4 separate regions of the Homo sapiens genome follow, and all the other regions are linked to region 1. The links are contacts of gene promoters, found by promoter capture Hi-C in blood cells and fetal thymus (Javierre and others, 2016). All regions are on one chromosome and are shown on one strand. The core of a region is centred on a gene start or on the middle of the fragment in contact, and the rest is flanking DNA. Distances in the headings are between cores, read along the strand shown.

Region 1 (7,227 bases), core at 2,111-4,610:
TCTCTTTCCTCTGTTGTCATCCTATCATTGACCTGACTGAGATACCAGAGATCGCCAAACTCTCAGGCTGCAGTTATGGTGGCACTTCTCTCATTTGGGGTTAGTGTCTGATTTAGCAGTGACATTATATCTCTCCATGTCAGATCAAAGAATTGTCCTAACCCTTGTAAAACATCAATATAGCCATCAGGGTTATCTGAGAATTTACCTAAGTCTGTTTTTATTTGCTTTAAGTCTGGGAGAGAAAAAGGCACATGCACTCTGGCTGGGCCGAATTCTCTTCCTCCCACTGCTTGGAGGGGTCATAATTGGGGAATATTGGCACTCTTTGGTTCACTGTTTACCCTTTTGTCTATCTCCTTTTGGACCATTTGGGTTGAAGGGGGGTCCTTATTAGTTGGGGAAGGAGTCGGGGATGCTGGGATAGGGAGGTAGACTCTGAAGGCTTCCTGTAGGGCATAAATCACACTTTTTACATAATTGTGAGTTGTCTCTTAATGAAAAGAAAGTTTGTACTTATGGCACTTCACTCCATTTGCCTTTTCTACAAAAGAGGTCTAGCTGTAAGATGGTGTTATAATTTATACTTCCCTCAGGAGTGCCAGGCGGCACTGCAGAAGAATATAAGTCGTTTCTTTCTTAGTGTCTGAGGGTCAAATTGGTCCCAATTCTCCAGAATACGTCTTAGGGGCGTTTTTGTCTTGCGGGGAACGTTTCCCATCTGAAAAAAGAACATAGGGATGCCAGCAACCCTAGTCATTTTCCGATGAGCTTTAGTCCTGGAGTGTCCTCTATGGTCCTAATGCTTATTCTTTCCAGGGTGCATCACCACCCATGGACCTCTGCTTATCGAATTAGTTATGCTCACTGATGTTGCAGTCCTGCACCTGTTTTCCTGCCTCTCTTGACCACAAAGAAAGGGGTCCAGGCTGCTGGATTCTAGTGGTCCTTTACCAGCGTGCCCAACATTGCCTTTGTGCTCAGGGGTGAGTTCCTTTCCAGGGTGCGTAACCACCCATGGACCTCTGTTTATCGGATTAGTTATGCTTACCGATGTAGCAGTCCTGCACCCCTTTTCCCGCCTTTCTTGACCACAAAGAAAGGGGTCTGGGCTGCTGGATTCTAGTGGTCCTTTACCAGCATGCCCAACATTGCCTTTGCGCTCAGGGGTGAGTCCTAGAGCTGGGCTGGGTTCCTATTTTATAACAACCCAGCTGCCCCATCAAGATGCATTCCCATAAACAAGTTCTTATGCAAATGCATTACAGAGAGGGTGTAGCTAACCTTTTGAATCAGGATTGAGATAGTCTTTTGATTCTGTAAGTACTTTAAGGCTTGGCTGAGTGCAAACAGCTCACACGTTTGAGGAGACCAGTTATTAGGCAATTTTTCTAACTCTGCTTCCACAAGAGTCCCCGTATCAATTACTGAATACCCATTGTGGTTTTTTTCCTCAATCACCTGGGAGGAACCATCTATCGTCCTGTCCTGAAGGGAGTTCCGCCTAGGTCTGGTCGGACCTTTGTATGGTAATTAAGATTTAAATCCCGTTAGGAAATCTGCTGGGTTAAGGGAATTATCAGTGGTTGGAGTTACATTACCTTTTTCTAACAGAATAGCCCCATACTTTAAGATTTTTGAGTTAGTAAGCTACCTTTTTGCTTTTTTTATTAGAATAATTCTGAACAGGTGAGGTGTGCTCACAATGAGGTTTCCTCTAAAAGTTACTTTTCTACTTTTAGCAAAGCAGTTGCGCTACCGACTGAATGCATTTGGTCCATCTGCGGGTTACTGGGTTAAGGATTTTTGATAGGGAAGCTACGGGTTGTCAATGGCCTCAGTGCTTTCGGCCTATGCTCTTATTTACACTGACCACAAAGTGGATTGGAGTGCTATAGGGTCACAGAGAAGACCTTCAATTATCAAGTACAGGTTTTAAATTTACCCTGGCTTTTAAAGGAATAGGGCACACTGTTTTTTACTATTTCTTTCTCTTTCTTTCTCTCTTTGACTCTCTCTCTCTCCTCTTTGTCTCTCTCTCTCTTCTGTCTCTCTCACTGTCTCTCTCTCCTCTCTGTCTCTCTCTCTTTCTCCTCCATTTCTCTCTCTCTCCTCTGTCTCTCTTTTCCCTCAGCCATTTACAAACTTGGGGCCCTGGCAAGGGTGGTGGGGAGTGGGTCCTACATAACTGCCCATGTCAAGAGCTGTATGCCTAAATTGGGAGGGACACCAGGGATAAGACTCCCTGGGTTATAGCCTAGGTGCCTAAGGACGCAGCGCAGAGCTTCCTTAGATCCCTTTGGAGATACAACTTGCTAGAGGAAATGGAAGTCTGAACCAATAGTACCTAGGAGGCAGGGATCAGAGGAAGTATATTCAGAGGTAAGGAGAATTTTGGGGCTACACTTTGAAGAAAGTTGTGGTTGGGACCCAGGAGGTATGGGTCAGAAGGAAAGATAGGGGTGCATGCATGGGCGACTGTTGAGACTTCTGGCTACACCATGATCTCAACCGGCTACTGCCGGGAGTTCAGGACGACAGCTTTCTGCCTCTAGTCGGCCCTCGGCTTCCCCAAGAAAACTGAAAGTGGAAGCTGGCTTGAGGCAAACCAAGTCCCCAACCCAGAAGGGTTGGGGGTTGTTAGAAAGCCCTTCCCCAGATAGCCTCACACCTGAGTCTTAAGTCCGGTGGCCACACTAATCGTTTTTAACTGGCCGACAAGTGCCCGGTATTTTCCTCCAATTCTAAGGAAGGATAGGACAGAATAGCAAGTGAAAGTGGTCCAATATTACTCACCACTTTGGATGTCCGTTCGTGGTTGCCAAAATGTTACCGGGGGGTCCTTGCTCACAGAGCTCCCAAGATGGTGGTGAACCACTTCCAAGATGGTAGCAGGCCGCTTCCAAGATGGTGGCAAGCCTCGTATTCTCTGACCTGGAGTTCTTGGCCTCACGGATTCCAAGGAATGGAATCTTGGGCCATGTGGTAAGTGTTATAGTTCTATTAGAAGCCGTGGGTCACAGAAGAGAACCATGGAACCCAGTGACTAGTGTTCAGCTCAATTAGAACAAACCCAGGCACTTAGCCGTGCAGGAACAATGGCAAGCCTTTAGCCCAATTGGGAGCGGCAATGGGCGCCTCGCTGGATCAGGAGCACAGCGGACACCCTGCAGGATCCAGAGGGATGGGAGTCAGCGGCAGGTCTGCGGTGGTGGCAAACAGCAGTGGTGGACGGTGAGCAAAAGCTCAGCTCGAGCCGTAAGAAACATGGACCAGAAGAGTGCAGTTGCAAGATTTAATAGAGTGAAATAGCATGAAAACAGCTCCCATACAAAGGGAAGGGACCCAAAGGGGGGCTGCTGTTGCCAGCTCGAATGCCTGGGTTTATATCCCGATTGTTGTCCCTCCTGCTGTGCTCTCAGGCAATAGATGATTGGCTATTTCTTTACCTCCTGTCTTTGCCTAATTAGCATTTTAGTGAGCTCTCTGATTGGTCAGGTGTGAGCTAAGTTGCAAGCCCCGTGTTTAAAGGTGGACGTGGTCACCTTCCCAGCTAGGCTTAGGGATTCTTAGTCGGCCTAGGAAATCCAGCTAGTCCTGTCTCTCAGTTGCAAGATAATTGCTGTATCTCCAGGCGTTTTGCCCTCATCCCAGAAAGGAAGCCCGCCCCAGGGACTTCTGTCTATGTTCACTGTCCAGAACTATGTCACATAGCCACAAATGACTGCAGTGAAGATCATGTGACTCAGTAATTCACTCTCCAGAGAGTATAGGAAGGCAAGAGAGGTGGTGTTGGAATGGATGTTGAATGAATTCATCTATAGGATATACCACAACGTCGGGAATAAGTGGCAGATGTTACAATCGAAATGGGCTGATTATAAGTGGGGATAAGTGGCTCGTGGGGTGGCAGAGGTCAGGCAGTTGCAATATGAGAGGCTAGGTGGATGCAGCTACCATAATCAGCAGTAAAGCCAGCATGTTAATTGCAGTGGTCTGACCTGCAGGGATCTTTGGTGCTGCCTAATTATGGTAATACATAAGTTATTAAGAAATAGTTTTTTGGCAGCTAGAAAGAGTAAAGGTTTTTGGAAATTTTCTTGTAATAAGAAGCAACCCTCACCCATTCCAAACCATTCCTTTTCTAACAGAAAAGACAGCTTAAAGAGCCAGGCCAGCAAACTTTGATATGCAAATGCAGGCTATTAAAAACTAGGTCCACCCAACATGGCCACCATGGCGATTCCCACCCTCTTCTTGTCAGCACATGTACCAAGTGTCATGGCCCCCTCCAGATAATTCATGTGTTTTCAGAACATCATGGCAACCCACATTTGCATATTAAAGGGCTGAGGTGGGAGGGCCAGGTTTTTTGCGGGGTACATGAATGATACACCTGGTCAACCCAATCCCCTGGGCCCTGTGCAAATCAGACACCGCCTCCTCCAGCCTCCCAGTATAATCAACCACTTTTCCACTGCACATGGGGTTTCCTTCTCTCGGCTTGGAGCCCCCTCCCTCTGTGTCTGTACAGGGGAGCCTCTTCCTTCTTTTTTGCGTATTAAACTCTCTGCTCCTTAAAACCACTCCATGTGTGTCCGTGTTGTTGTCACCCCCGTCCCTGTGAAGAGAGTCCACCAAACAGGCTTTGTGTGAGCAACAAGGCTGTTTATTTCACCTGGGTGCAGGCGGGCTGAGTCCAAAAAAGGAGTCAGCTAAGGGAGATGGGGTGGGGCCATTTTATAGGATTTGGGTGGGTAGTGGAGGGGCAGGGGTCACAAGGTGCTCAGTGGGGGAGGTTTTGAGCCAGGAGAAGGAATTTCCCAAGGTTAATTGCTCAGTTAAGGTGGGGCAGGAACAAATCACAGTGGTGGAATGTCATCGGTTAAGGCAGGAACAGGCCATTTTCACTTCTTTTGTGATTCTTCAGTTACTTCAGGCCATCTGGATGTATATGTGCAGGTCACAGGGGATATGATGGCTTGGGCTCAGAGGCCTGACATTGCTGTCTTCTTATATTAATAAGAAAAATAATGTAAAATAGTGTTGAAGTGTTGGGGCAGCAAAAATTTTGGGGGTGGTATGGAGAGATAATGGGCTATGTTTCTCAGGGCTGCTTCGAGAGGGATTATGGGCGGCATGGGAACCTAGAGTGGGAGAGATTAAGCTGAAGGAAGATTTTGTGGTAAGGGGCGATATTGTGGGGTTGTTAGAAGGAGCATTTATTGTATAGAACGATTGGTGATGGCCTGGATGCGGTTTTGTATGAATTGAAAAACTAAACGGAAGACACAAGGTCCGAATAAGAGAAGGAGAAAAACAGATATTAAAGGACTAAGATTTGGGAGGACCTAAGACATCCAATTAGAGAGTGCCCAAGGGGGTTCAGCATAATTACTAGCTTGGTTGCGAGTTTTTGGGCTCTATCCTCCTTTTTAAGTTGGAGGCTGAGTTTGGTGGGGTGTGTTTTTAAAAGACCATTAGTCCATTCTACCTTTCCTGAAGATTGAGGACAGTAAGGGGTACGAAGGTTCCACTGAATACCAAGAGCCTGAAAAACTGCTCAGGTGATTTGACTAATAAAGGCTGCTCCGTTATTGGACTGTATAGAGGTGGGAAGGCCAACCCAAGGAATTATGTCTGACAGAAGGGAAGAAATGACTGCAGTGGCCTTCTCAGACCCTGTGGGAAAGGCCTCTACCCATCCAGTGACAGTGTCTACCCAGACCAAGAGGTATTTTAGTTTCCTGACTCAGGGCATGTGAGTAAAGTCAATTTGCCAGTCCTGGGCAGGGGCAAATCCCCGAGCTTGATGTGTAGGGAGGGGAGGGGGCCTGAACAATCCCTGAGGGGTAGTAGAATAGCAGATGGAACACTGAGAAGTGATTTCCTTGAGGATATGTTTCCACGATGGAAGGAAATGAGAGGTTCTAAGAGGTGGACTAGTGGCTTGTAACCTACATGGAAGAGGTTATGAAATGATGACAGAATAGAATGGGCCTGTGAGGCTGGAAGGAGATATTTTCCTTGGTCTAAGAACCATTTGCCTTGTGTGAGAAGAGATTGATAGGCGGAAGTTTCAATGGGGGAGTAGGTGGGAATGACTGATGGGAAGGAGAAAAACTGGCCATGAGGGACAGAAGTTGGAACGCTAGGTGCTTCTTTAGCTACCTTATCAGCATAAGCATTTCCTAGAGTAATGGGATCTGACGCCTTTTGGTGGCCCTTGCAGTGTGTGACTCCAGCTTCCTTTGGAAGTAAAGCAGCCTTGAGAAGAGTTTTTATTAAAGAGGCATTAATGATGGAGGACCCTTGCGTAGTGAGGAAACCTCTTTCAGCCCATATAACAGCATGGTGGTGCAAGATATGGAAGGCATATTTAGAGTCAGTATAAATATTGACGTGTAGTCCCTTTGCAAGAGTGAAGGCCCGAGTTAAGGCAATCAGTTCGGCTTGCTGAGAGGTAGTGGAGGGGGGCAGAGCAGTAGCCTCAATGATGGATGTGGAAGATTCTATAGCATAGCCTGCCTTTGCTGGTGAGTGGCGATCAGGCCTGGTGGAACTGCCGTCAGTAAACCAAATGTGATCAACATGAGGAACAGAAAAGAAGGAAATATGGGGAAATGGGGTGAATGTCAGGTAGATCAGAGACATACAATCATCAGGGTCAGGTGTGGTATCCAGAATAATGTGGGAGGCCAGATTGAAGTCTGGGCCAGGAAGAATGGTAATTGTGGGAGACTCAACAAAGAGTGAATACAGCTGAAGGAGCCGGGGAGCAGAAAGTATATGCGTCAGGTGTGAGAAAGAAAATAGATTTTGGAAGTTGTGAGAGCTGTAGAGAGTGAGTTGAGCATAGTTTGTGATTTTGAGGGCCTCTAAAAGTATTAGGGCAGCGGAAGCTACCGCATGGAGACATGATGGCGAGCCTAAAACAGTAAGGTCAAGTTGTTTGGACAAAAAGGCTACAGGGCATGGTCCCGGTCCTTGTGTAAGAATTCCGACTGCACAGCCCTGCACTTCGGCTGTGTGTAATGAAAAGGGTTGGGATGAGACAGGGAGAGCTAGTGTGGGAGCAGTCTCTAAAGCTGTCTTCAAGGAATGGAAAGAGGAGTGGGGAAAGGATTTAGAATCTATGGGGTCAGCTAGGTTTCCTTTTGTGAGTTTATATAATGATTTTGTTAGGATGGCAAAACCAGGTATCCAAAGGCAAAAGTATCCAACCAT
Region 2 (7,227 bases), core at 1,352-3,851, 350 kb before region 1:
GAATTACTCACTTTTATCTTCCTGTGAGGTACATACTATTAACCTCAAGTTATAGCTAGCTGCATAAGATCACACAGAAAGCAAACATTGGAGCTGGAATTTAAAACTAGGCAGTCTGACTCCCAAGCCCCCTCTTAAATCAAGCCTTCTAAAAAAAACTCCTACTCTGTTTCATTTACAAGACTGTTAATCTGTTATTGAGGATCAACTGAAACCATGTGTACAGAAGAGAAGATGTTGGGGCTTAACTGTATGAATACAGTCGAACCAGGAAAACATAGGCCTGTTTAAGAAAGTGAATTGAATAATCTGGTTAAATTAGTTGGTATGAGTAGAAGAAAGAAAGACTGGGCCAGAATGTGAAGGGCCTAACATAGCAAGCTCTGACTTCATCCAAGAGACAGAGCAGGTAGAAACAGGCAGGTAGAAATGTACATTTATGGGCCAGGTGCAGTGGCTCACGCCTGTAATCCCAGCACTATGGGAGGCCGAGGCGGGCGGATCACAAGGTCGGGAGATCAAGACCATCCTGGCTAACACGGTGAAACCCCATCTCTACTAAAAGTACAAAACAATTAGCCAGGCTTGGTGGCGGGTGCCTGTAGTCCCAGCTACTCGGGAGGCTGAGGCAGGAGAATGGCGTGAACCTGGGAAGCAGAGCTTGCAGTGAGCCGAGCTCATGCCACTGCACTCCAGCCTGGGCGAGAGAGCAAGACTCCATCACCAAAAAAAAAAAAAAAAAAAAGAAATGCACATTTATGGAGAACCCACTATGAGTCCAGGGCTGTGCTGGGTGTTCTAATATAAGATATATGAAAACATTTTGAAACTGCAAAGCTCCTTGCAAATATAAGGTATGATGAGTTCCAGAGAACTTTAGGGAATCTCTCCTGGCTCTTCCTTTTACTCCCACCCCTCTTCCAATCTGTAACTAGATAGAGGGGGCAGAAATAGAAGAAAAGGGACTAGCAATCTATCTCCTCCCCATCTGTCACCTAAACACCAATAAATCAACAAAAGTACAGAAAGCCTACTAATATGCAAAACACTAAGCACTAAGCTATAGATCAAGTCCTAAGAGCAATATTTCTTTATATCAGAGGCAGTCCCTGTCCTTAAGAAACAGAAAATTAAATAAAGGCACAAATATTTAAAACAAAGAAACTTCACAATACAATAAAAAGCCACCAAAGATTTCAAACAAGTGCTAGAGAAGAGCTGTATCACTTTTAGGTATAGTTCAGAGACTTTCCTGAGGATAAGGAATACGTGAGGTAAGCAGGCTTTTAAACTAGGCTGGGCTCAGTGGCTCACGCCTGTAATCCTAACACTTTGGGAGGCTGAGGCAGGTGGATCACCTGAGGTCAGGAGTTTGAAACCAGCCTGGCCAACATGATGAAACCCTGTCTCTACTAAAAATAGAAAAATTAGTTGGGCATGGTGGCACGTGCCTGTAGTCCCAGCTCTCAGGAGGATGAGGCAGGAGAATTGCTTGAACACAGGAGGCAGAGACTGCAGTGAGCCGAGATCACACCACTGCACTACAGCTGGGGCAACAGAGCAAGACTCCATCTCAAAAACAAAAACATAAATAAAATATTAGACTAGACAGACAACAAATCACCTTTTTAATAAACTGAAACTTACTTTAAATGAGCTCATTATATAAAGAAAATTTGTCTTGAATTCTTATAGAAGAAAGGGGATTCATAATCTTACCCATTTTGTATGTTTTACTTGTTTAATTTTTATCTTTGTTAAGGCAAAGCATACCAACACTACAATAATTATACAAAGTTAAATAACCTAGTGTAATATATTCTTTATCCATACCTGAAACTAGGCAAAGGCAGCCAACCTGGTAAGAGCCAGGCTGCATGGCTGAAACCTCCATCCAAATCTGCATACAGCTGTGCTACCTTTTCATTGAGTTGACTTCTGATTTCCTTTCCATGCAAACAATGGCTAGCTGTTAAAATTATGAGCTCAGAAAGAGCTTCAAACACATCTAGGGAGAAAAAAAAGATTATTCTCATTACTATTTCCAAAAAGTGAAAGAAAATTGAGAATTAAAAACAGAACTCAAGAAGAAACAAGATCCTATTCATATCATCAAAAAAAGTCTGTAGACAGACATGTGACTATGTACAACAACAAAGAGGGGCAATAAACCAAACAATGTGAAGCACCCTGTCCCTCTAAACAGCCAAAACAGATCCCAGAAACACATCTCAAAACCCCACTCATGAGCACTTCATCATGAAAAGAATAAATGTGGTTATTTGATTTCCAGGTCACAATAACAAAAGCAGAAAAAAGGTTATTTATAGTGCATATGACAATAATAAGGTACTTCCCAAGGAATAGTAGCCAAAGATCAGATTATTTCCCAGGTTAAAAGTAGGAAGATCAGGGCCAAAATGGAATTACTGGCGATATGTAAAAGAAAACTATAATCACCAATTAGTATATCCCAACACTGGAGACAAATGCACCAGGCAAGCATAATTTGATGACAACTAATAAAAATTATCCAATTAATTTCCTGTTAATTCCACATTCACTAAATGAACTTCCAATGATCATCTGGCTTTCCAATTATATTTGTCAATAAAAAGAATATCAGTAAATATTCTGGATTTCTTGGTGCTGTAATTATATGTCTCACATGCATTATTACATTGGCATTCTAATTTATACATCAGTTTCTTGTATGGTTAGAAAATATATCAATATCAACTTAAGTATACCAAAAACAAAGATTCTGGAACTCTTACAGAGGCCAAAGGCCAGACCCAGAATATAGTGACCTGCTGCCCTGGGTCCTGCTGCCCTGTGGGCAGATGTTGCTTCCTACTATGGGCACAGCAATTGCTTCTGAAGGCAATACTTAACTTGCAGCCCAGTATAAAAACTGGATTCTCAGTTACAACTTCATGGTAATCATTACATAACCCTCCCATAAATCTAAGGTAGTTTTACATACACTGTAATTTGTTTTTTATATACTACACACATATATACTCTACTTTTCTATTCACAGAGAAGTAGAAATGTTAGGACAAACATAAAACATTTTGCTTACTTTTTTCTCCACTTTCTCCCCAACTCTCAAAGTATTCCTTTGTTTCTTTTTCAATTATAGAAACATGCTGTTTAAAGTGGGCTATGTTAAGGCCACTTTTTAACATTTTCTTCTGCTCCAAGAAAACCTTCAAAAAAATTCAAAACGGGGATACGGCATTAAAACACATTTTTGTTTTATCATAAAATCCATTTAGGTTATTATAATTATGTAACACTAACACAAGTAATGGTTTTAACCCTTTGGGCATTTACATTTTAAGAGTCTAAATGAATAGATCTATCTGACTCTAAATGAATAGAGTCTAAATGAATATATATATCTGAACAGAGGGATTTTCCAGGGCCCTGTTTTTTGGCCTTAAGGAGAGGCATTCATTCCCTCATTCCCCATCACTAGAAACAAGATTTAATGTTAACTCTTAACTGCTATACTAGGGTACTGGCTAATGTGTGTTACATTCACAGCCAGAGCCCATACCAAGCATTGGGGCCAATTGTCTGATTTGTGTTCTATATCAACTTAAAACAATTTCGTATTTGGCTTTTGAGGGTAAAACATACACATAGATGTACCCCACACGTGAAGTTGTTGCATTAAAAGAGGACTTCTGAAGTCAGCAATCTCTAAACAGCGCTTATGTTAGAATTTCAGGCAGGAATGGGTAGGCAGGAAGTCCTTTTGATGAAGTAACAGCATTGTCTAATAACCCTTTCAAATTAAATCCCAGTATGCTAAGTTATCATTGATTCCATTATTTGTACAGGAAGCCCTTTAATATTGTTTAGCCATGACAGCAAATATAAAACTAAATACCCATTACTTATCAGTTATCCATGGCCTTTCTTCTCATGATTCTTCAGACTTTTGAACCAAGGAATAAACTGGTTCTACATTTTATTACATTTTTGTTTGGTTGGTTTCTGTGTGTGTGTGTGTGTGTGTGTGTGTGCGCGTGCGTGTGTGTGTGTGTGTTTGGTTTTTTGTTTCTGTTTTTGAGACAGGGTCTCACTCTGTTGCCAAGGCTAAAGTGCAGTGTTGTGATCTCGGCTCACTGCAACCTCCGCCTCCTGGGTTCAAGCGATTCTCATGCCTCAGCCTCCCAAGTAGCTGGAATTTACAGGTGTGCACCACCAGCCCCACCCAGCTAATTTTTGTATTTTTAGTAGAGACAGGGTTTCACCATGTTGGCCAGGCTGGTCTTGAACTCCTGACTTTGAGTGATCCACCCACCTTGGCCTCCCAAAGTGCTGGGATTACAGGAATGAGCCACCATGCCTGGCTGTTTCTACATTTTAAATGTATAATGTCTCACTATTAGCTATAACTACTGAGGTATAGATTTGTCTTTATTTATGGTAACAGTGTCACCTACTGGATTAGGCACATCGTATGCAACTCCCTTCCCAAACACAGGTGTTGTCAGGCGACTGTAGACATCTTCTGCATTCAGGTCTTCATTTTTACTATTAAAAAGCAGTGCAGCAGCATCACTCCCCAGAAGGTAAGTAAATGTCTTGCCTACCATGGTAAAACTAAATACAGGTCCATACTAAAAAGAGAAAAGTACATATAGTGATGTTACAAAAAATATGCAACACTACGACAGTAACTTTTTAAAATCACAAAATAATGCATTATTAAAAAAATAAAAACATATATAAACCTTAAAGCAATTCTTTTCATCTTGCCATACTCCTCCTTCCTTTGTCCAAATTTATAATTATGTTCATTTAGTTGCAAATGTAGTATAAATATAACTGTTTATTATGCTTTTTTCAGTTTATATTGACAATGTTTTCTATTGTCTATATAAACATCACAATGTTAATTTACTGACTACTCTTTCATTATTGGACATATGGGTGATATGTCAGGGTTTTCTTTAGTTATTACAGCTAATTCTGTGATGAACACCTCTGAAAATATAGACTTCTTCCCCCTTTGGTTAAAAACAAATTTTACAAGACTAGCCAAAGAATTTGACCTTTTCTATAGTACCTGCTATGTGAAGACACTACAAGTTTATTTATCTATTTTAGCACTATCTCACCTACACTAAATGACTTCATTTTTTATTTTATATTAATTTGGTTAGATGTTAAATACTTTCCCTTGCAGTTTTCTGGTTATGATTGAAGACTAGACTCTGGGGGTATAATCATGAAAAAAAATACTGTCCCAACTCACCAAGCTTAGTCTATTGGAAAAAATACAAATTAATCAAATAATCACATTAACAAACATAAAACTGCAAATGTGACAAGTATTACAGAAAGGAAAGCAACTCTGTGATGAGAGAATCTAAAAAAGGGAGACCTAATAGAGGAAAAGACAACTAGGTTGAGACCAGAAGAATGAGGAGCTGGTTTGGTAGCTAAACATACACAAAGGCCCTAAAAGTAAGAGAAAGAGAAAGGAGGAGATGAGAGTTGAGCATTAGGCAGTGCTAGACCATACAGAGCCTCATAAGCCATTTTGAGGAAGTTTTTAAACGGGTGACAAGAATTTTTCAGAGAAAAAGGAAAGATGCCATTGAAAAAGAAGTCAACAATACACTGAGAAAACAAATAAAAGTAAAAAGTTCCTGAGACAAAAGAGGGATGGAGAGTTCAGCCTCCGATAAGAGGCAAAATATAGTTGTAATAAAATCAAAGTGGTAGAACGCAGTGAGCCAGACTGTCCGTGTTCAAATCCCAGCTCCTCCACCTACTTGCTGTATGACTTTGGTCCTATAGTCAGAGAACTTAGTCTCTCTGTGTTTCGTTTCTCTCACCTATAAAATGGTAATAATAATAATAGCAGTTCTTCACAGAGCTGCTGCCAAATTTTATATACAGGGCAGAGAAGAGTACCTTGGCTTACTTAGCATCTTAATGACTTGTTTTCCATTATTGTTATCATTAATAAAAGTATAGGCTCAGAAATCAGACCATGTGTAAATCCTGGCTTGGCCACTGTCTAGCAGTGAGTCCAAGAAGAAATTATATATCCTCTCTGCTTCTCAGTTTTGTCATCTATAAAACAAATATACCTGAAAGGGTTTTTGTGGAGCTTCAGTGAGATGATCTTTGTAAAGCACTAAGTACTGGCATAAAGTAAGTGTTTGATAATTATTACTGTGATAGGAAGAAAGAGAATAGGATTACTATATAAATACAAGTAGGTTTGCATATTTGAAATTGAGAAAATGAGGAAGTTTTCTTTGAATGTTTTAATAATTGTCTCCTAAATCAACGTTTTTAATCATTGTCTCCTAAACAGGAGAAAAAATCATCTGCTTTGATGGAGAGGTAGAAAGATTCAGAAGTTTAGAAAAGTGAAGGTTTGAATTAGTCACTGTAATGAGTGGAAAAGTAGGCCCAATCACAAGAACATAATAGGACTGTGGAGCAGTGTTCAAATATCATTAAGGTAGGCAATCATAAAATCAGGAAGAAACTAATCTGGTGCAGAAGGAGACAATAACTGGCTGCCTCCAAGGGTGACTTCTGCCAGCTGAACACAATGAAAAGATGCGGGGTCGAGGAAATTTAAAGTACAGTATTGCCAAGAGTGTAACAGAAACGACATGCCATGGACCCAAAGCGGAAAGAGGAAAGTGAAGAATGAAGGCTGATGGATCAGGAGAAAGTAAATGGAATGCAAGATCCAATGAGGTCAAAGAATAGTTATAATTTAAGGAGTTGCACAAGCAAACCAGGAGACGGTATGGTCTACGAATAGGATATCTAAATTAATATTGTGGAAGTGAAACAGTTAAGAGTGACAAGTCCAAAGCGAGACTGTGAAGTAAATGGCTTAACTGGCACAGGGAAGCTCATTAGAGAGAAGACGGGCAAATAATTGAGTAGCTATGGTGTCATGTGGGTCATTCAAGTGGACAGTGAAATCACAGAAGATGTATAGAGCAGGTTAGAAAACCCCACAGATGCATGGTAAAGAAAAATGAGGGTTAATTAATATCAATTTTAATGACAATAAGTGAATAGAAAACTCAGAACAGTGGCTTTTAAACCATAGTTGCCAGAACTACAGGTTTCCTCAATGGTGTCTCAAAGACGACCCCAGGACATGGGAAAAGCTAAAAGGATAGGTATCTATAAGACACCATCTCTTAAACCAGAGCAGTTTCCATTTTG
Region 3 (7,227 bases), core at 1,818-4,317, 320 kb before region 1:
TTAGTAAATTATCTGTTCAAAATTTATACCAATTTTTATTAAGTTGTTTGACTTCTTAATTTTGTTTTTAGTTTTTTTTTTTTTAAGTATTAAGCAAATATTTTCTTCCAATCCATGGCTTTGCTTTTCATTCTTTTAAAAAATGTCTTTTGGGCTGGGCACAGTGGCTCATGCCTATAATCTCAGCACTTTGGGAGGCCAAGGCGGGTGGATAACTTGAGGTCAGGAATTTGAGAGAAGCCTGGGCAACATAGTGAAACCCCATCTCTACTAAAAGTATACAAAAATTAGCTGGGCATGGTGGCAGGCGCCTGTAATCCCAGCTACTCAGGAGGCTGAGGCAGGAAACCCCAGAGGCAGAAGCTGCAGTGAGCCTAGATCGTGCCACTGCACTCCAGGCTGGATGACACAGCAAGACTCTGCTGTAAAAAAAAAATAAAAATAAAAAAATTTTAAAAAGCCTTTAGTCTTGCTCTTGTCAGCCAAGCTGGAGTGCAGTGGCAGCATCTTGGCTCACTGTAACCTCCGCTTCCTGGGTTCAAGCGATTCTCCTGCCTCAGCCTCCCAAGTAGCTGGGATTACAGGCGCCTGCCACCACGCCTGGCTAATTTTTTGTATTTTTAGTAGAGACAGGGTTTCACCATGTTGGCTAGGCTGGTCTCGAACTCCTGACCTCAGGAGATCCACCTGCCTCGGTTTTCCAAGGTGCTGGGATTACAGGCATGAGCCACCACGCCCAGCAGAGAAGTTTCCAATTTTGATGAAAACCAATTTATCAATTATGTTTATTTGTGGATTGTAATTTCAGTGTTGTATATAAGAAATCCTTGCCAAAGTTTTGATTTTTTTCACCTTTTTTTTTGAGACAGGGTCTGGCTTTGTCACCCAGGCTGGAGTGCAGTGGCACGATCTTGGCTCATTGCAGCCTCAGCCTCATGGGTTCAAGTGATCCTCCCACCTCAGCCTCTCAAGCAGCTGGGACTACAGGAGTGCACCACCATGCCCAGCTCATTTTTTTGTATTTTGTTTGTAGAGATGGGGTTTCCCCATGTTGCCCAGGCTGGTCCCAAACTCCTGAGTCTCAAGCAATCCTCACATCTCAGCCTCCCAAAGTTCTGGGACTACAGGCATGAGCCATGACACCCAGCCTTTTAATATTTTTTCACTTTTTTTTTTTTGCAAAACAATATTTTTCTATGTTCTTATCTAGAAGTTTTGTAGTTTTAGCTTTTACATTTAGGTCTGTGATTCATTTTGAGGTAATATTTTTATATAGTGTGTAGGATCAAAATTATATTGTGGTTATTTATTTGTTTTTGTTTTATTTTGTTTTGTTTTGGCTTTTGGACATCCAGTTGATCCAGCAATATTTGTTGAAAATAATGTTCTTTCTCTGTTGGATTACAGTAGTTCCTCCTTATCCATGGGAGATACCTTCCAAGACCCCCCAGCTGATGCCTACAAACCAAATACAGTATCAAACATGATTGCTGTCAATCAGATCACATCTGTTCATGTCTTTCACCCACAAATTTAATGCCTTTTCCTTCTTAACTGAGCACTTATCATGCACTGTGGCTGTAATTTTGTAGTTTGAGGTGCAACAGCAAAATTAGCACAAATTTCTTTTTCTGTCTTCACAATTTCATCGATAGAATATTCGTCCTTAGCGTAGATCTTAGCAACCTCATCATATGATTCTTTTCTTTCCAAGTTGAGAACTCTCACCTTTTCACTTAAAGGAAGCACTTTAAGGCTTCTCTATGGTGTATCCAAATTGCCAGCATCACTACTCTTGTGCTTTAGGGCCATTAATAAGTAAAATAAGGGTTACATGAACACAAGCACTGTGATACTGTGACAGTGGATCTGATAACTGAGACTGCTACTAAGTGACTGACAGGCAGGGAGCACATGCAGTGAATGGATTCACAACCCAGGTAGGACAGTGCAAGATTTCATCACACTGCTCAGAAAAGTGCACAATTTTAAATTTATGAATTGTTTATTTCTGGAATTTCCCAGTTAATATTTTCAGACCACTGTTGATCATGAGTAAAACCATGGAAGTGAAACTGTGAATAAGGGGGAACTACCATGGCAAAAATCAGTTGACCACATAGTGGTCAGTCAGGGTTCTCTAGAGGGACAGGACTACCATATAGTGGGTGTATTAGTCAGGGTTCTCCAGAGGGACAGGACTAATAGGATAGATATATATATATAAAAGGGAGTTTATTAAGGAGTATTGACTCACATAACCACAAGGTGAAGTCCTGCAATGGGCCATCTGCAAGCTGAGGCACAAGGAAGCAAGTCCAAGTCCCGAAACCTCAAAAGTAGGGAAGCCAATAGTGCAGCCTTCAGTCTGTGGCCAAAGGCCCAAAGGCCCTAGAGCCCCTGGCAAACCAGTGGTGTAAGTCCAAGAGTGCAAAAGCTGAAGAACTTGGAGTCCAGTGTTTGAGGGCAGGAAGCATCCAGCATGGGAGATAGATGGAGGCCAGAAGACACAGCCAGTCTAGTCCTTCCACGTACTTCTGCCTGCTTTATTCTAGCCAAGGTGGCAGCTGATTAGATTGTGCCCACCCAGATTGAGGGTGGGTCTGCCTCTCCCAGTCCACTGACTCAGATGTTAATCTCCTTTGGGAACACCCTCACAGACACATGCAGGAACAATACTTTGCATCCTGCAATCCAATCAAGTTGACACTCAATATTAACCATAATTGTGGATCTATTTCTAGACTCTCTATTCTGTCCCATTGATCCTTATGTCTGTTGTTTTGCCAATACTATCACTGTCTTCATGACTATAGTTTTGCATAAGTCTTGAAATCAGGTTGTGTGAATCATCCAACTTTGTTTTTCTTCTTCAAAATTGTTTCAGCTATTCTAGTTCCTTTGACTTTTTATATACATTTTAGAATTACCTCATTGTTTTCTGAAACAAAAAACTCTGCTAGGATTTTGTTGGAATTGAGTTGAATTTAAAGATAAGTTTTGGGAAAACTGACATATTAACAATATTGTCTTCCAATTTATAAACACTATATATCTCTCTACTTATTTAGGTTTATTTAGTTTTATCTATGTTACAGTTTTCAGCATATAGATCTTATATGTAATTTGTTAGATTTATTTATGGTTTTGGTACCATTTTAAATTGTACTTTTAAAGAAATCAATTTCCAATCATTTCTTGCTAGTCTGTAGACATATGATTGATTTTTGTATATTAACTCTGTATACGGCAATCTTGCTAAACTTACTTGTTCTGTAGATCCTTTGGGATTTTTGACCTAGACAACGTGTCTCTGTTATCAGAAATAATTTTTTCTTCTTCCTTCACAATCTATTTACTTTTTATTTCTTTTTCTTGTGTTGTTGTGCTAGTTGGGATTCCAGTTATAACGTCAAAAAGAAGTGGTGAGAAAGGAGAACTTTACTTTAATCCTGATCATAGTGGAAAATAAATCGTTTACCATGGAGTGTGATATTAGCTATAGGAGTTTTGCAGATGTATTTTTTCAAGTTGAGGAAATTCTCTTCTATTTCTAGCTTGCTGAGAGTTTTTTTGTTGTTGTTTGTTTTTGAAAATCTTGAATGGAAATTGTATTTTTTCATATGATATTTGCTTTTTTTTTTTTTTTTTTTGAGATGAGGTCTTGTTTTGTTGCCCAGGCTGGAATGCAGTGGCACAATCATAACTTACTGCAGCCTCAAACTCCTGGGCTCAAGCAATCCTCCTGCCTATGTCTCCCAAGTAGCTGGGATTACAAGCATAAACCACCACATCTGCTTGCTTTGCTTTTTATACTTACAGTGAGAAGTTCACATGGCTTTTCATAAGCCTGTTCAGATGGTGAATTACATGGATTAGTTTTTGAATATTGACTCAACCTTGCATTCCCAGGGTAAATCCCACTTGGTCACAATATGATATCATTTTTTATATTGATGGATTTAATTTGCTTTAATTCATTAAGGAATTTTGCATCGATGTTCAAGCAGGATGTTATTCTGTAAGTTTCCAAGTAATGTCTTTGTCTTATTATGGTATTAGGATAATGCTGGCCTCAGAATGAACTGAGACATGTTGTATCCTCAATTTTATGACAGAATTTTTTAAATTGGCATTGTTTCTCCTTCCTTCCTTCCTTCCTTTCTTCTTTCTTTTCTTTCCTTCATTCTTTCAGACAGAGTCTCACTCTGTCGCCCAGGCTGGAGTGCAGTGGCACAATCTCAGCTCATTGCAACCCCCGCCTCCTGGGTCTAAGCGATTCTCCTGCCTCAGCCTCCTGAGTAGTTTTGATTTTGATTACAGGTGTGCCCCACCACACCTGACTAATTTTTTTTTTTTTAAGTAGAGCCGGGGTTTCACCATATTGGCCAGGCTGGCATCAAACTCCTGACCTCAAGCAATCCGCCCCCCTCGGCCTCCCAAAGTGCTGGAATTACAGGCATGAGCCACCATGCCCGGCCTAACTTAATGATTTCTTCTTTGAAATACTTGAAAGAATTCACCAGTGAATCCTTTTTGAAATTGGCATTGTTTCTTCTATAAAATACTTTATAGAATTCACCAGTGAAGTTATCTGAGCTAGAAATTTTCTTTGTATGAGAGCTTTTAACTACAAATTCAATTACTCAAATAGAATTAGGGCTATCTGTTAGCCCACAATGATATCTACCTCCTGTTACCCCCTTGTGTAGTCCCCTCCCACATTATACCAAGGTTGGTCTGTGTGATCAATAGAATAGAGCAGAAGTGATGTTATGTCACTTCCAAGATTAGGCATTTAAAGACACTGCTGGCTGGGCATGGTGGCTCACCCCTATAATCCCAGCACTTTGGGAGGCTGAGGCAGGTGGATCACCTGAGCCTAGAGAGGTCAAGGCTGCAGTGAGCCATGATCTTGCCACTGTGCTCCAGCTTGGGCAACAGAGTGAGACCCTGTCTCAAAATAAATAAATAAATAAACAAACAGATAAATATATATGTGTATATATGTGTATATATGTATATATGTGTACATATATGTGCATATATATGTGTGTATGTGTGTATATATATATATAATCAACGCAGTATTTGTTGTACTTTGGGAAATCTTTTCTGATATCTTTAGAGTGAGTGGTTTATTTTCTTATCTACAATGTCATTTTTATTTTGTTTTGGTTATTGTAATGCTTTACCTTGTAAATGACTCCATGTAAGGTATTAGAGTATTATAGGGTATAGGAGAAGTATCAGGGGAGCCAACAGAGAAGGAAACGCAGAAAAAATGCTGACCTGAGGTTGTGTAGGTGTGTGTAGAGGAAGAGGTGAGGTTGGGTTCAGAAAGGGAAGAAATACTAAATGACTGGGTATAGGCAGAGAAGAGAGAAAATAAATGAAAATATGTTCAGGCTCTCCTACTCTTTCAAGGCAGGAACTGGACCTTATACTTTGCTTTCATTTTCTGTACCTAGGACAGTCATTTCCTTCTAATGGTGACTTAATACCTTATGTTGACTCTTTGCCATTCTGTATCTTGTCAGCAAAATTTGCAACTCAGACATTAATACTCTACTTATTGATTATGCTTACTGATTATGCTTGACACTCACCACTCAGGTTTAGTTGCTGCAGATCATTTAAAGATAGCAAAGATGGTGGAAGATAACTTATTTGATTATTGTATGCATGTAAACTAACCAAATTTCTCAATTCTCCTATATTTCTTGGAATCTCTCTGATTGCATTATTTGAGATATCAAGTTCTTTAAGTTGAGTCATATTAGATAGCTCTCCTGGAAGTCTTGTTAGCTGTAACAAAGATTACACAATTATACATTTATAAATACATACATATTTGCATGACTAAAACTTCTTCTAAAATCAAATGAAAGAGTTTTGTCTGTTTTTGTTTTTGTCTTAAAAAGGAGATTTTTTATTATGTCACAAATTCTTTGTGACTGACTCTCCCTTCTGACTAAAACCCACAAGATATTGTGCGACATCCAAGTACCTCCCCAATCTGACCAATGCTTCTAATTCAACCCTGTGGCTTGCAACCCACTTTGCTCACATTCCCATCACTCAGTGTTCATTACCTCCTTATCCCATTCTCTTCTCCCTAAATCTGACCCTGTTTTGGCTTCTTTCCCGCCCCCCTCCCAGAAGTCTTTTCCAACTACTCCATCCCACATTTGATCTCCTTATTACTAGTCCTATCAACATTGCTTTTTTTTTTTTTTTTTTGAGACGGAGATCTCGGTCTGTCACCCAGGCTGGAGGGCAATGGCATGATCTCAGCTCACTGCAACCTCTGCCTACCGGGTTCAAGCAATTCTCCTGCCTCAGCCTTTTGAGTACCTGGGATCACAGGTGCCCAGCACCACGCCCAGCTAATTTTTGTATTTTTAGTAGAATGGGGTTTTGCCATGTTGGCCAAGCTGGTTTCGAACTCCTGACATCAGGCGATCCTCCCACCTTGGCCTCCCAAAGTGCTGGGATTAAGGGCATGAGCTACCTCACCAGGCCCCATTGCTTTTTATTCATCATTTGTGTGCGTTTTTTTAGATTTTCTAAATGACATGATACACATGTTTTATACTTTTTGTATGTGTTTCCAAGCACAAAATGCATTTTGACCAAATGTTTAATAATGGAGTCACAGTTTGGCAATGTGACCTTAAATAAAAATTCCTACTATAAAAAGTGTTGCAAAATTGCAGGAATTAAAATATTCTGTTAAGATGAAGAAGAAATATGCATATTTAGAGAAAATAGGGCCATTATGAGTGGCTTTTGAAATAAAGGAAGTTCTATGAACAAAACAATTTTGAATGTATAGGCACCTCTAATAGCTAAACAACAAGGTACATTCTGCATGTTGTGCTATATGTTCTTCCAGGTATAAAGGAAGCATAAGAAATAGTCTCCAACTTCACGGAGATTAAATTTTATTTTAGGGAACAGAATATATCCTATGAAAAAATCAGGAAATGGAATGAAGCAATAGGTAATCCAATGCCAAAATAATACAATTAATAACTGATGAATGAAAGTTTAGAAAAGGTACATTACTACAAATCAGAGAACTAAAGTAAAGCTTCATGTAAAAAGTAGAACTTGAATAGCCTCTTAAGAATGAATAGGCGGCTGGGCTCGGTGGCTCACACCTGTAATCCCAGCACTTTGGGAGGCCAAGGTGGGTGGATCACAGGAATTCAAGACCAGCCG
Region 4 (7,227 bases), core at 2,525-5,024, 280 kb before region 1:
TGCTAGCTTTGGGGTTCATTTGTTGTTTTTCTTGTTCCTCTATCTGTAATGTTAGATGGTTAATTTGAGATCTTTCTAACTTCTGGAGGTAGGTGTTTTGTGCTATAAAATTTCCTATTAACACTGTTTTGGCTGCATCCCAGAGATTTTGGCACGTTGTGTCTTTGTTTTCATTTATTTCAAAGATTTTAAAAATTTGTCGTTTACCCAAAATCATTCAAGAGCAAGTTGTTTTATTTCCATGTTGTCATATGGTATTGAGAGATCTTCTTGGTAGTGATTTCTATTTTTATTCCACTGTGATCTGAGAGTATGGTTTAGTATAATTTTAACTTTTTTGAATTTATTGAGACTTGCTTTACAGTTGAGCATTTGGTTGACCCTGGAGTATGTTCCATGTCCACATGAGAAAAATATGTATTCTGTGGTTGATGGGTGAATTACTCTGTAGATATCTAGTAGGTCTAAGTGTTGAATTTAAGTCCAGAATTTCTTTGTTTTCTGCCTTGATGATCTGTCCAGCACTCTCAATGGGGTGAAGTCCCCCACTATTATTGTGTGACTAAGTCTTTTTGTAGGTCTAGAAGTACTTGTTTTATGAACCTGGGTGCTCAAATGTTGGGTGTGTATGTATTTACAATAGTTCAGTCTTGTTGTTGAACTGAACACTTTGCCATTATGTAGTGCCCTTCTTCGTCCTTTTTCACTGTAGTTGGTTTAGTCTTTTATCTGATATAAAAATAGTGACCTCTGTTCTTTTTTGTTTTCTGTTTGTGTGACAGATCTTTCTCCAACCTTTTACTTTGAGCCTATGGGTGTCGTCATGTTTGAGATGGGTCTCTTGAAGACAGCAGATGGATGGGTCTTGTTTTTTTAATCCAACTTGCCAGTCGATAACTTTTTTTTTTTTTTTTTTTTTGAGACAGAGTTTTGCTCTGTCGCTCAGGCTGGAGTGCAGTAGCGTGATCTTGGCTCACCACAACCTCTGCCTCCCAGGTTCAAGAGATTCTCCTGCCTCAGCCTCCCAAGCAGCTGAGATAACAGGTGCACGCCACCACACCCAGGTAATTTTTGTATTTTTAGTAGAGATGGGGTTCACCATGTTGGCCAGGCTGGTCTCAAACTCCTGACCTCAGGTGATCCACCCACCTCCCAAAGTGCTGGGATTACAAGGCATGAGCCACTGTGCCCAGCCTCATTCTGCGGACTTTTAAGTGGGGGTGTTTAGACCATTTGCATTCCAGGTTAATATTGTTACATGTGGTTTTGATCCTATTGCAAAGCTGTTAGCAGGTTGCTCTGTAGTTTCTATTGTGTAGTTGCTTAATAGGTCTATGGGCTATGTACTTAAATGTGTTTTTCGGTAGCATGCATTGTTCTTTCACTTCCATGTTTAGAACTCCCTTGAGGATCTCTGGTAAGGCTGGTATAGTGGTAAAGAATGCCCTTTGTGCTTGCTTGTCTGGAAAAGATTTTATTTCTCCTTCGCTTATGAAGCTTAGTTTGGCAGGATATATTATTACTATTATTGAAACAGAGTCTCATTCTGTCACCCAGGCTGGAGTGCAGTGGCATGATCTTGGCTCACTGCAACCTCTGCCTCCCAGGTTCATGTGATTCTTATGCCTCAGCCTCATGAGTAGTTGGGATTACAGATGTGCACCACTATGCCCAGCTAATTTGTGTATTTTTAATAGAAAAGGGGTTTCACCATGTTAGCCAGGATGGTCTCAAACTCCTGGTCTCATGTGATCTGCCAGCCTCAGCCTCCCAAAGTGCTGGTATAATGGGCATGAGCCACTGCATCCAGCTATATTATTTTAAACTACACAATTTTGTTCCATTTTTTAGGGCGCTGTTAGAAAACTGTCATTTTTTCCTTGCTGAATTGTAATGCATACAATTTACTCCCTAGGCAAGTAGGGAAAAATATCAGTAAAGCACAGCAAATGAGAAAGTGGGGGCAGCAAGCTCATTCTCAGGTGGTCCTCAATGTGGGATCATCAAAAGAATGGGAGTAAACATTTTTGAGGCTGGGCGCAGCAGTTCACACTTGTAATCCCAGCACTTTGGGAGGCTGAGGTGGGCAGATCACTTGAGGCAAGGAGTTTGAGACCAGCCTGGCCAACACTGTGAAACCCTGCCTCTAATAAAAATACAAAAATTAGCCAGATGTGGTGGTGCTCGGTTGTAATTCCAGCTACTAGGGAGGCTGAGATGGGAGGATCACTGGAATCCGGGAGGTGAAAGTTGCAGTGAGCCGAGATAGTGCCACGGCACTCCAGCCTGGGTGACGGAGTGAGACTCTCTCAAAAACAAAAACATTTTTGAGACTGCTTTCCAGGGCTGGCCAAAATATATTCCCATATGTTGTCTCAGTCTTGTGCTATCATTCAATTTTATTAACATAATCAGTTTTTATTATTCCATATAATTTTAACTAATTTAATAAGCTTCTGTTTTACATTTTTGTTAGGAAAATTTATATTTCCCCATTTCTAAAATTCATTTGCATTTCCAAGCATACAACTTCTCTGTTAATCTTCTTTGACCACTCACTAAATGGATTTTGGGTACAGACATATTTCTAGTTAAATCTTAATTTTTGGCTGGGCAAGGTAGCTCATGCCTGTAATTCCAGCACTTTGGGAGGCCGAGGTGGGTGGATCACCTGAGGTCAGGAGTTCGAGACCAGGCTGACCAACATGGTGAAACCCTGTCTCTCCTAAAAATACAAAAAGTAGCTGGGCATGGTGGCCCATGCCTGTAATCCCAGCTACTTTGGAGGCTGAGGCAGGGGAATCACTTAAACCCGGGAAGCAGAGGTTGCAGTGAGCCGAGATCGTGCCATTGCACTCCAGCCTGGGCAACAAGAGTGAAACTCTGTCTCAAAAAAACAAAACAAAACAAAACAAAAAAAACTTAATATAGTTTTGAATTTTCAGAACTTGGTTAGCAAGTGCTGATTCTTTAAGTGTATTTTGAAATTTGTCCAGTAAAATTTCCTTTGATAATCAGTTCTGTGAATTTTGACAAATATACTATGTCAATCATAATCAGAACATCCTCTCCCCTACCACCAAATTTCTCCATGCTGCCCCTTTATATTCCCATATTCCCCCCACACCTATCCTTAACCTTTGGTAACCACTATCTGCTTTCTGGTCCTACAGTTTTGCCTTTTCCAGAATGTTATCCAAATGGAATGTTACGGTATACAGTATAACCTTTTGAGTCTGGCTTCTTTCAGTTAGCATAATGCATTTGAGCTTTATCCATGTTGTTCATCAATAGTTTCTTTTCATTGTTGAGTGGTATGCCATTATATGGATGTACCTGAGTTTATTCATTCACTCAGTGAAGGATATTTGGGTTGCTCCCAGTTTAATTATGAAAAAATTAAAGATGTATTCTACAAACATTTGCATATGAATTGTGTGAATATAAGTTTTAGCTGCTTAGATAAATAATTGGGAGTGGAATGCCGGGTCCTATAGTATATTTAACTTACAAGAAACGAAACTGTTTTCCAAAATGGTTGTTCCATTTTGCATTCCTACTAGCCATGTATGAGCTCCAGGTCCTCATTCTTTTGCTTTGCTTTTGATGTTTGTTCATGTACATTTAAAAAGCATTTTATTCACCTATCCCTCATACGCATTTAAGAAACATCCATAAGCGAATGTGCTCTGACACTAAAATATGCTGGTCTGCTTTTCCCTAGCAATATTAAATGTTATTTTAATATTTAAATTTTGCCCATATAAAATCTATTGGATACACATATGGAGAATAGTGCCAAGCTATTTCTTTTCTATACTGATATTCACTTAACAGGATGCTTTGTGGATTGTCCTAAGTTTGCCCATTTCTCAAGTGTTGTCATTCTTTTGCTTGCTTCTCACTGTGCTCTCTTCCTGGGTGGCTTCAAATCTATTCGTGGAGTTTCAATTGTCATCTCCTGAGAGCCTTTTGAACTTCAGGCCTGGGAACCCTATTGTCTATTGACCATCTCCATCTATGTGTCCCTTGGGAGCCAGGAACTCAAAACATTTCTTCAAAACTTCCTCCCCTATTCCCTATTTTAGGCAGTATATGGTACCATTTTCCCATATGTCCAGGACAGAAAGAGGATAATTACTCATTACTCCTACCTCTTCCTTATTTCCCATATCTAAAAGGTCACTGGGTTTTGTCAAAATATTTTCTCCCATTGCCATTATCTTAGCTTAAGTCCAGATTGCATTATACCTTCTTGCTCAGAACCACCTCTTTAAGCCCTTCTGTACATTGACCCAGGGTGATCTTTCAACACACACATCTGAGCTAATCAAGTCCTAAGGGCTCCAATGGCTCCTCATAAACAGGAAACACAACACCCTTCAAAACTTGATCATTTTTGTTTAACCACTCCACCTATATCTCCTTTACCTGACAAATGTCTGAATTCAGAAGCCAGACTGCCAGATGTTGAATTCTGACACCCCAACTTACTAGTTTTTGACCTTACACAAATAACATAGCCTCTCTGTATACAACTGTGTTCAAAGTTATACAATATACAAAAATGAAAACATTTACATCACTCTGTTAGAAACTATGGCTCCTAAGATTTTAAAGATAGAAAACAAGTATTATTTTATGTTTTTATTATAACCATACATGATGTATCTGACTGACTTATACTCTGGAGTTTGGCTGCCGAGGTATGAATCTGAGCTCCACCACTCATTGGTTTGGAAAGTAATTTAAACCAACTTCAATTTTCTTATCTGTAAAATGGGAATAATAGTATCTGCCTCATAGTGATTGTTGTCAGGAATAAATGAATTAATATCCCAAAAGTGCTTCAAATAATGCCAATAGTGTAGTAAGTGTCACTTAAAGTAGTAGCTATTATTATAATTTAAATAATGGGGACATAAGTTCCTAATTTCCCACCCATGTGGGTGCCCTTCCAATGAATCCTGAACAACCTGGTACTTCCTTTTATCACAGAAATTAGCACAATGTATTGAAACTGTTTTTCTCATCTACACCCTAAGATGTCTGAAAGATATTCTTTGTCTTAAATACTCTGGCCTCGAAGATCCCCAAAAGCTTGATGCTTCTGCTTTAGGGCCTTTACAGTCTGCCTATGTCTCCCTCTCCAAACACCATAAATAATTCTAGAGGTTTTCTGACGTGCTTATGAATACAAACATCAAATGAGAATCATACCATCATAGATGGATTTTTGGTGAGAAAATATTTTCTTGCATGCACTCAATCCTATCTCTCTCTGTGTCTCTATCCATCTATTCTCACACGCATTCAAGCCTATCTGGTCTATCATCTAATCCTTGCATGCATGCAAGTCTACCTAATCTATCATCTACCTACCAACCTACCTACCTAGAGTCGGGGGCTTGCTCAGTCACGCAGCCTGGAGAACAATGGTGCAATTATAGCTCACTGCAGCCACAAACCCCTGTGCCCAAGAAATCCTCCCACCTCAGCCTCCTGAGTAGCTGGGACTACAGATGTACACCACCACTCCTGGCTATTTTTTATTTTTGTAGAGATGGAGATCTTGCTATGTTGCCTAGGCTGGTGTGGTCTTGAACTCCTGGCCTCAAGTGATTCTCCCACTTTGGCCTTCCAAAGCGCTGGGATTACAGCGTGAGTAACCATGTCCAGCCTCAAGCCAATTAAGTGTCTTAATCAGTTTTCTACACAGTGCAGCAAAAACAAATTATGCTTTGACAGAAATTATTTTCACTGAGAGCATTGTTTTCTATGTTAATGATAAGGCAACAAATTGATTCCCCAATCCGTTTTTTGCACATATAAATTCTTTTAGAGGGCCAGACACAGTGGCTTATGCCTGTATCCTAGCACTATGGGAGGCCGAGGAAGGTGGATCACCTGAGGTTAGGAGTTTGAGGCCAGCCTGGCCAACATGGTGAAACCCTGTCTCTACTAAAAATACAAAAATTAGCTGGGCATGGTGGCGCACGTCTGTAATCCCAGCTACTCAGGAGGCTGATGAGGCAGGATAATTGGTTGAACCCAGTGGGGCGGAGGTTGCAGTGAGCTGAGATCATGCCACCGCACTCCAGCCTGGGCGACAGAACAAGACTCTGTCTCAATCATTCAATCAATCAATAAATATTCTTTTAGAGTTTTTGCCATTGATTTCTCAGGATCAAATAAAAAAATCTAAATTTTATTAATGCAATTCCTCTATTAAGTTTGGTCAATAACCGGAAAGTTTTACTTTGTTGAATATTTCTATCAAGTCTAATTTTTCTAGGGTCAATTTTGGCAACTTTTTTCTTATTTTTTTTTCTTTTTTTGCCCATCATTGGCTAAATTTTGGCAATTTTTAATCTTGTGGTTCTTCAGTAAGTTTTCTCTAATACATTTATCATGTGCAGTATTAGCTATTCTGGTTTTATTTGTATAATGAAAATTAATTTGTTGTGATTTGGATAAACAATTACTTGAATTTGGATCACAACTGAAAATGAGTAATTGTAAATCCCCTCATCAGTTCTCCAGGTCTGTCTTTTGGGGTCAAAACATCTCACCTCATTTCCCTTCCAGCTGTACTGCCTTCACATAACTAATTCCTGCTCACATGTCAGATGCCAACTCAAGCATCACTTGCTCAGGAAAGCCTCTCCTGATCCCTACTAGATCAAGGGTCCCTGTTAATGCTGAGATGTTTTTCTTTCATCACAGTAATTAGAGTTACAATTACATATATCCATGATAATTTATTGTCTCCCTCAGACTTTGTTCTCTGAAAGCAGGGATTTTGTTTTCCTTACCACTGGGTCCCTGGCACATAAAAGGCACTCAAATTTACTGAAAGAATGATGAAAGGAAAATGGTATCTTATCTTGATCCCTACAGCACATATAATGCCTGATCAATACCAGGCATTCATTAAAAGCTGTTTAGATTTCCCTATTTTTATTTCTGGATTGTTATGGTCTGAAAGATAATGATCAATTTTTTTCTCAATAATAATTTTTAAAATTGAATTTTTAATGCTATATATTTTTAAGCCTTTAATAACTATGCTACTCTAATAGTCTCCTATTCCTTTCTTATTAGGGCTGCTATACTGTACATCTTCAGGAGGGTAAACTGTATTCCACAGAGCAGGAGGTTGTTTGATGTGGTATCACTGCATCCTCACCTCTCTCTGTGAAAGGAAACACATTCGGCTATCTCCTA

Evidence for each region. Contacts are between HindIII fragments. The CHiCAGO score rates a contact against its expected background, and 5 or more counts as called.
Region 2: a fragment that was not itself captured here is called in contact with the fragment with the promoter of ERVW-1 in region 1 in 2 of 17 cell types (M2 macrophages and erythroblasts); the score reaches 6.3 in M2 macrophages.
Region 3: a contact is called between a fragment that was not itself captured here and the fragment with the promoter of ERVW-1 in region 1, in 1 of 17 cell types (erythroblasts). The highest score is 5.5, in erythroblasts.
Region 4: a contact is called between a fragment that was not itself captured here and the fragment with the promoter of ERVW-1 in region 1, in 3 of 17 cell types (M2 macrophages, erythroblasts and M1 macrophages). The highest score is 5.8, in M2 macrophages.

Annotation. Positions count from the first base shown.
Region 1 is chr7:92,474,586-92,481,812 of GRCh38, forward strand. ERVW-1 (endogenous retrovirus group W member 1, envelope) reads right to left here and starts at 3,361. Exons shown (of 2, transcript NM_001130925.2): 1 at 2,797-3,361. It also overlaps a transcript of GATAD1 not described here. RefSeq lists enhancers at 2,045-2,546, 2,684-3,603, 3,581-3,725, 3,615-4,045, 3,643-3,674 and 1 more, promoters at 3,251-3,583, 3,290-3,650 and cis regulatory regions at 3,675-3,736, 3,737-4,045. The HindIII fragment of the contact is 16,290 bases long and covers 1-7,227 here.
Region 2 is chr7:92,124,420-92,131,646 of GRCh38, forward strand. CYP51A1 (cytochrome P450 family 51 subfamily A member 1) reads right to left here. Exons shown (of 10, transcript NM_000786.4): 3 at 4,461-4,637; 4 at 3,086-3,212; 5 at 1,834-2,008. Among named protein-coding and RNA genes, the nearest start is that of CYP51A1, 6.4 kb to the right of the region's middle. The HindIII fragment of the contact is 5,351 bases long and covers 1-5,277 here.
Region 3 is chr7:92,153,396-92,160,622 of GRCh38, forward strand. LRRD1 (leucine rich repeats and death domain containing 1) reads right to left here. Exons shown (of 6, transcript NM_001161528.2): 3 at 5,610-5,808. The region is part of intron 1 of CYP51A1-AS1 (CYP51A1 antisense RNA 1); the gene reads left to right. Among named protein-coding and RNA genes, the nearest start is that of LRRD1, 22 kb to the right of the region's middle. RefSeq lists a silencer at 5,481-5,530. The HindIII fragment of the contact is 8,053 bases long and covers 1-7,094 here.
Region 4 is chr7:92,191,150-92,198,376 of GRCh38, forward strand. No RefSeq gene overlaps it. Among named protein-coding and RNA genes, the nearest start is that of MIR1285-1, 9.3 kb to the right of the region's middle. The HindIII fragment of the contact is 2,647 bases long and covers 2,452-5,098 here.